Linked DNA regions of Homo sapiens: region 1 is linked to region 2. The links are contacts of gene promoters, found by promoter capture Hi-C in blood cells and fetal thymus (Javierre and others, 2016). All regions are on one chromosome and are shown on one strand. Each heading gives the region's core, a stretch centred on a gene start or on the middle of the fragment in contact. The rest is flanking DNA. Distances are from core to core; before and after follow the strand shown. Region 1 has its middle 11 kb from the start of RNASE10. Region 2 holds the start of RNASE11 (ribonuclease A family member 11 (inactive)).

Evidence for each region. The method cuts DNA at HindIII sites, captures the fragments that hold promoters and counts their contacts. A CHiCAGO score of 5 or more calls a contact.
Region 1: a fragment that was not itself captured here is called in contact with the fragment with the promoter of RNASE11 in region 2 in 1 of 17 cell types (M2 macrophages); the score reaches 5.2 in M2 macrophages.

What each region holds. Positions count from the first base shown.
Region 1 is chr14:20,492,607-20,495,735 of GRCh38, reverse strand. No RefSeq gene overlaps it. Among named protein-coding and RNA genes, the nearest start is that of RNASE10, 11 kb to the left of the region's middle. The HindIII fragment of the contact is 1,819 bases long and covers 912-2,730 here.
Region 2 is chr14:20,586,552-20,589,514 of GRCh38, reverse strand. It overlaps RNASE11 (ribonuclease A family member 11 (inactive)), which reads left to right and starts at 1,514. Exons shown (of 3, transcript NM_001394190.1): 1 at 1,514-1,655; 2 at 1,890-1,952. RNASE11-AS1 (RNASE11 and RNASE12 antisense RNA 1) reads right to left here and starts at 1,291. Exons shown (of 5, transcript NR_122043.1): 1 at 1,197-1,291. The HindIII fragment of the contact is 10,143 bases long and covers 1-2,963 here.

The DNA of each region.
Region 1 (3,129 bases), core at 572-3,071, 94 kb after region 2:
GGGAGAGGAAGGAAGAGGAGGGGAGGAAAGGGCAAGGGAAAGGGAGGGGAAGGGAGGGAAAAGGGAGAAGCGGGGAGGGGAGCGGAGGGGAAGGAAGGGAAGGGAGAAAGGAAAGAAAAGAAAAGAAGAAAAGAAAAAGAAAGGAAAGGGGAAAGGACAGGAAAGAGGAAAGGAGAAAGGAAAGGAAAAAGGAATGAAAAAAAAGAAAGAACAGGAAAGGAAAGGAAACTTGAAGGGGAAGGAAATTACAAAAAGGAAGTCTGCTGGCTTTGTAAGGAAGGGGGTAATGAGTAAGTTCAGGCAGTTTTGTTTCATTTTGGGTATTTGCACCAGTATTCGAGGTGTCCCAATCAGAGTGACTCATCTTGAATAAAGGCCAGATGAAGCCAAACCTGCTGGGTTACTTTCCCAGGAAATTGGGCACTGTTAATCACAAAATGTTTATGGTTGAGGAAATGAGTTGATGGAAAAAGGCATTCTTAGTTTAAAAATGGGTTTCTTGGATGGCATGGTGGCTCACACCTGTAATCCCAGCACTTCAGGAGGCCAAGGCAGTTAGATTGCTTGATCTCAGGAGTTCAAACCAGCCATGGGCAATGTCAGGCGTCTGAGCCCAAGCTTGCACGTGTAAGTATCCGGATGGCCTGAAGCAACTGAAGAATCACAAAAGAAGTGAAAACAGTCGATTCCTTCCTTAACTGATGACATTACCTTGTGAAATTCCTTCTCCTGGCTCAGAAGCTCCCCTACTGAGCACCTTGTGACCCCCACCCCTGCCCGCCAGAGAACAATCCCCTTTGACTGTAATTTTCCACTACCTACCCAAATCCTATAAAACAGCCCCACCCCATCTCCCTTTGCTGACTCCTTTTTTGGACTCAGTCCGCCTGCACCCAGGTAATTAAAAAGCTTTATTGCTCACACAAAGCCCGTTGGTGGTCTCTTCACACGGACACACGTGACAGGCAACATGGTAGAATCCTATCTCTATAAAAAAATAAAAATAAAAATTAGCTGGGCATGGAGACTGAGGTGAGAGAATCCAGAGGATCAAAGAGGATCGAGTCAAGGAGGTGGAGGCTACAGTGAGCCAAGATCGCACCACTGCACTCCAGCCTGGGCGACAAGAGTGAAATTCTGTCTTAAAAAAAAAGGTGGGTGGGAGGGTTTCTTGTGGTGGTGAAGGTGTAAGCAAATAAACACATAAAAATAAACATGGGTTTCACTTTAAAGATAATACTACACTCATAAATTATTGCTGAAATCAATAGTTACACCGGAGAATAACAATACTAATAGCCTGTCACAACTTGATCACAAGCCTTTATAATAAAGTAAACTATTCTTTTTTTTTTTTTTTTTTTTTTTTTTGAGATGGAGTCTGGCTCTGTTGCCCAGACTGAAGTGCAGTGGCGCAATCTCGGTTCACTGCAAGCTCCGCCACCCGGATTCATGCCATTCTCCTGCCTTAGCCTCCCGAGTAGCTGGGACTACAGGTGCCCACCACCATGCCCGGCTAATTTTTTGTATTTTTAGTGGAGATGGGGTTTCACCGTGTTAGCCAGGATGGTCTTGATCTCCTGACCTCGTGATCCACCCACCTCGGACTCCCAAAGTAAACTATTCTTAACCTTAATATCCTGTATAAGCAAGCATTACATTTAAAGTAGGGGCATTCCTCCTCTTGCTCTCTGAGGATGCCCTACTCTGTAATAGAGTAGTTTCTAATGAACTGTTTTAACTATACTGTACTCTGCGCCCTGTCCTTAATTCTTTCCTGCTCAAGATCGAAGAACTTGCTCTTGAGGTTTGGAACAGGAATCCTTTTCCAGTAAAACCAGTAGTTCAAACCACTCCCTGCTCCACCTCTGACTTCCTCTTTTGTTTTGAGAGAGGATCTGCAAGACACTAGCAGTTTTGAGGAAGAGTGAGCCCTAGGGAGGGAAATGCTCAGTGGCTCTGTACTAGCTCAACTGTTGGAAGTCAGCCTCACCCCACACACTGGCCTTTTCCTGATCCCTTTCTGGTCTGAGAATGGGCAGTGGCCAGATACTGCCATGAGTAGATGGGAGTGAAAATACTTAGAGATGAAGAGGAGGCAGGAGAAGGGGAGCTGAAATTTTCAAACAATTGTCACTGTGTGATATTTCAACTTCAGATAGTGGCCAAATAAGTTTCAGTGGGAACTGCGTTCAATCCAAATGACAAAACCACTAAAGTCTGAAGAAGATGTACCAGCTAAACTGGTAGCTTCTAATCTTTTGATCATCATGGGTTCTTTTTTCTTTCCTTTTTTTAAATAAAATTTTAAAAATTCCTTCCCAGGTAGCTGGGAGTACAGGTGGGCACCACCATATCCAGCTAATGTTTTAATTTTTTGTAGAGATGTAGAGATGGGGTTGCCCAACCTATTAGACCCTTTTTATTATTCCCAGCCCCCATAGGTCCCTATAAATATTTGTTAAGATATAGTTGTAACTTAGCAAATGTATCTGGGGGACCATGTCCAAAAAAACCAGATGGACACCCAGAAAGGGTTTCAGGAGGTGGAGGCTGCACAATTATCCAAGATACATTGGATCCTATCCACAACTTACAGGTGCAAACTTGATCTTATCTGAGTTTTTCAGTTTCTTTTTTTTTGAGATGGAGTCTCACTCTTGTCGCCCAGGCTGGAGTGCAGTGGCGTGATCTCGGCTCACTGCAACCACCACCTCCCGAGTTCAAGCTTCTCCTGCCTCAGCCTCCCAAGTAGCTGGGATTACAGGCACCCGCCACCACACCTGGCTAATTTTTGTATTTTTAGTAGACATGGGGTTTCACCATTTTGGCCAGGGTCATCTTGAACTCCTGACCTCAGGTGATCTGCCTGCCTCAGCCTCCCAAAGTGCTGGGATTACAGGCATGAACCACTGTGTCCAGCGCATTTTTCAGTTTCATGCGAGTTACTCACACCAACCAATCCCCAGTTAAAACTATGAACAAGATCTACATTGAAAAATATGTGCAGTGAAAATAAACCTGCCCCATACATTCTCTCCCTGACTCAAGTGGGAGACCAAACCTCAAAGAGATGATTGCTTGGTGAGCATCAGTGGTCAGCAGCGTCACAGTTCCTTCGGGCCAGGA
Region 2 (2,963 bases), core at 265-2,764:
TTGGGAGGCCGAGGCGGGTGGATCACGAGGCCAGGAGATCGAGACCATCCTGGCTAACACGGTGAAACCCTGTCTCTACTAAAAATACAAAAAATTAGCCGGGCGTGGTGGCGGGCGCCTATAGTCCCAGCTACTCCGGAGGCTGAGGCAAGAGAATGGCGTGAACCCAGGAGGCGGAGTTGCAGTGAGCCGAGATCGCGCCACTGCACTCCAGCCGGGGCGGCAGAGTGAGACTCCGTCTCAAAAAAAAAAAAAAAGAAATCTTGGATGCTCAAAATATCTATCACAAAATTTTGAAGATCCAATCTGACAAGGCTAGGATCAGGGTAAGATGAGTTATGTGAGAAACGTAGTGCAGGGCCAGATCCTGGTATTTAAAATTTTAACATTTGTTCATCAGGGATTATTTTGCATTAAATTTATTTTCTGGCCAGGCGTGGTGGCTCATGCCTGTAATCCCAGCACTTTGGGAGGCTGAGGCAGGTGGAACACTTGAGGTCAGGAGTTTGAGATCAGCCTGGCCAACATGGTGAAACCTCCTCTCCACTAAAAATACAAAAGTTAGTTGGGTGTGGTGGTGCACGCCTGTAATCCCAGCTGCTTGGGAAGCTGACACAGGAGGAGCGCTTGAACCTGGGAGGTGGAGGTTGCAGTGAGCCGAGATCATGCCATTGCACTCCAGCCTGGGCAACAGAGCAAGACTCTGTCTCAAAAATAAATAAATAAATATTTTCTAAAATTGTTGCATTAAAATATTATTTATCTTGATTATTGAGTTTTGTGGCACTCTCTTAAATTTTGGTCTTAGAGTGAGTGTCTCATTAACCTCAGCCTAATCCTAGCTCTGCTTCTAGCTGTAGAAGCAACAGAGGTCACCTCTTAGGGTCTTTTTTAAAGATAGCATATACAACTCAGGCAGCATCTGTTCCTGTTCAGCAGCTCCCTTTGTGTCTTGAAATAAAGAAAGGAGCCTGACTGGTCTGAAACCATTTCCCTTAAAGACTTTAGAGAGACACAGATAAGGATTTCCCAGGGAGGGATTGAGACTTTCAGAGCTCAGTGACCTCCTCTTTGTGTCTCCAGAAGGAACAGAGAGGACTTTGAGCCGGACTACTAACTCTTTTCTCTTTTTAGTTCTTACAATTGGACTTACTGCTTAGTTTCCCCACATTCAGCTATGGGCATAGTATCCTTACAGCTAGAAGGAGAAGGACGAGAAAGAGAGATTTCTAATTCTGGGGATTTCATGAAGTCCTCTTCTTCTCTATTCATTAGTTTCCTTGTCTGTAAAGTGAGGATCTTGAATTAGATAATCTTTCAAGTTCTTTCCAAGTCTATTAGTCTATAATTCTATTTCTTAAGTAGTACAGAAAATGGCTATATTATAGCCATTGTTGGAGGGGAGAATTTGTATTGTGAGGTAGTAAGAAATAAGGGGCAATTGGCAAATAAAGGCCAGATTATGTTGTCACTAATTCTGAGCTATGGCATTTCAATCCTGTATGTGAGAGCTAGAGACTCATACAGTGACCTAGAGCAGGCATGGGTGGGTCACAGGCTTTGGAGAGCACTCTCTGTCCTGATCTTTTCAGTTGAGAGACTTCAGCTGTTCATTGCTCATTTGGACTTAGTTCAAGGTCATGTCAAAGAAGAAGGTGCACTTACGCTAGTTGTTAGCTCTGTCTTTTGTAACCATCAAGTTCCATGCGATTGATCAGATTTAGGAGGGGGCGTTGGGGGATAATCGTAAGTGAAGGACAGTTTGCAACCTTGTGAGTAGGCAACGCTTACTCATCTCATGGCTTCTTCCATCTTAGGTGGCCGTTTTTCAGCTGAGTTTCATTTTCTAGTTCTCTGTGGTAATTCTGTTGTCATTGTTGTCTCCATAGAATTTTGGGTGTCACCAGGTAAACAGAGCCCTCAGCATCTGAATAGAAACTGAACAGGAACAGGTAGGTGGTCCCTAGCACATGATTTGTTGGGCCTTGGTAGCATCATTTTTTGGGCAAAACTTTGAAGTGGATGAAATGCATCCTTTAGGTTCCTACATCTATTTTCTGAATTCTGATTCCTTTTTCTATCCCTCTCCCTAGGTTTTGTTGTCTTTTCTTTCCTTTTCAGTGCTTTTTCTCCCCTTCTTCACCGAAGCTCCTCCTTTCTAATTAAAAATATCTTGCAGATAAAAGTATAACTGAGATGAACCAATAGGATGTATCCTCAGAGTAATTTCATTCAATAGGGATCAACACCAAATTCAAATGAATTGTGACATTTTAGACATTCGTAGTTTGGGTGTGTGTGTATCTATATCTATCTATCTGTATCTAAATATGTATATACATATATATTATACAGATATATAGGATCAGAGTCTCATTCTGTTGCCCAGGATGGAGTGCAGTTGTGTGATCACAGCTCACTGCAGTCTCAGACTTTTGGGCTCAAGAAATCCTCTCCTCTCAGCCTCCCGAGTGGCTGGGACTATAGGCATATGCCACCACAACTGGCTTTTTGTTGTTGTTGTTGTTGTAGAGATGGATTCTCACTATGTTGCCTAGGCTGGTCTTGAACTTCTGGCCTCAAGTGATCCTCCCGCATTGGCCTCCCAAAGCAATGAGACCACAGGCATGAGTGACTGTGCCCAGCCAGGTATATTTTTTTAAAGGGCACCTCTTAGCAGTTTCAAATAAAACCTAGGCAGCTGTGAATGCTGCCCACTTGAAATATATGTCTCAGAAAGACTGGAAATTTCTGCCCTGCTCTTCTTCCTGTTTATCTTTCTCCTCCTGGTCTTTCTGTTTCCCTATTGTCACCTCACTACTGATGTCAATGGTATAGGATATAGAAGTTTAGGAAACAAAATAAATTCCCTATAAATCCCTCATCCTTTCTGCCTTCAAAATGTATCAGGTCTTTGGTCAAGGCATCCTTGGACACACACCTGGACACATATACTTAATTCT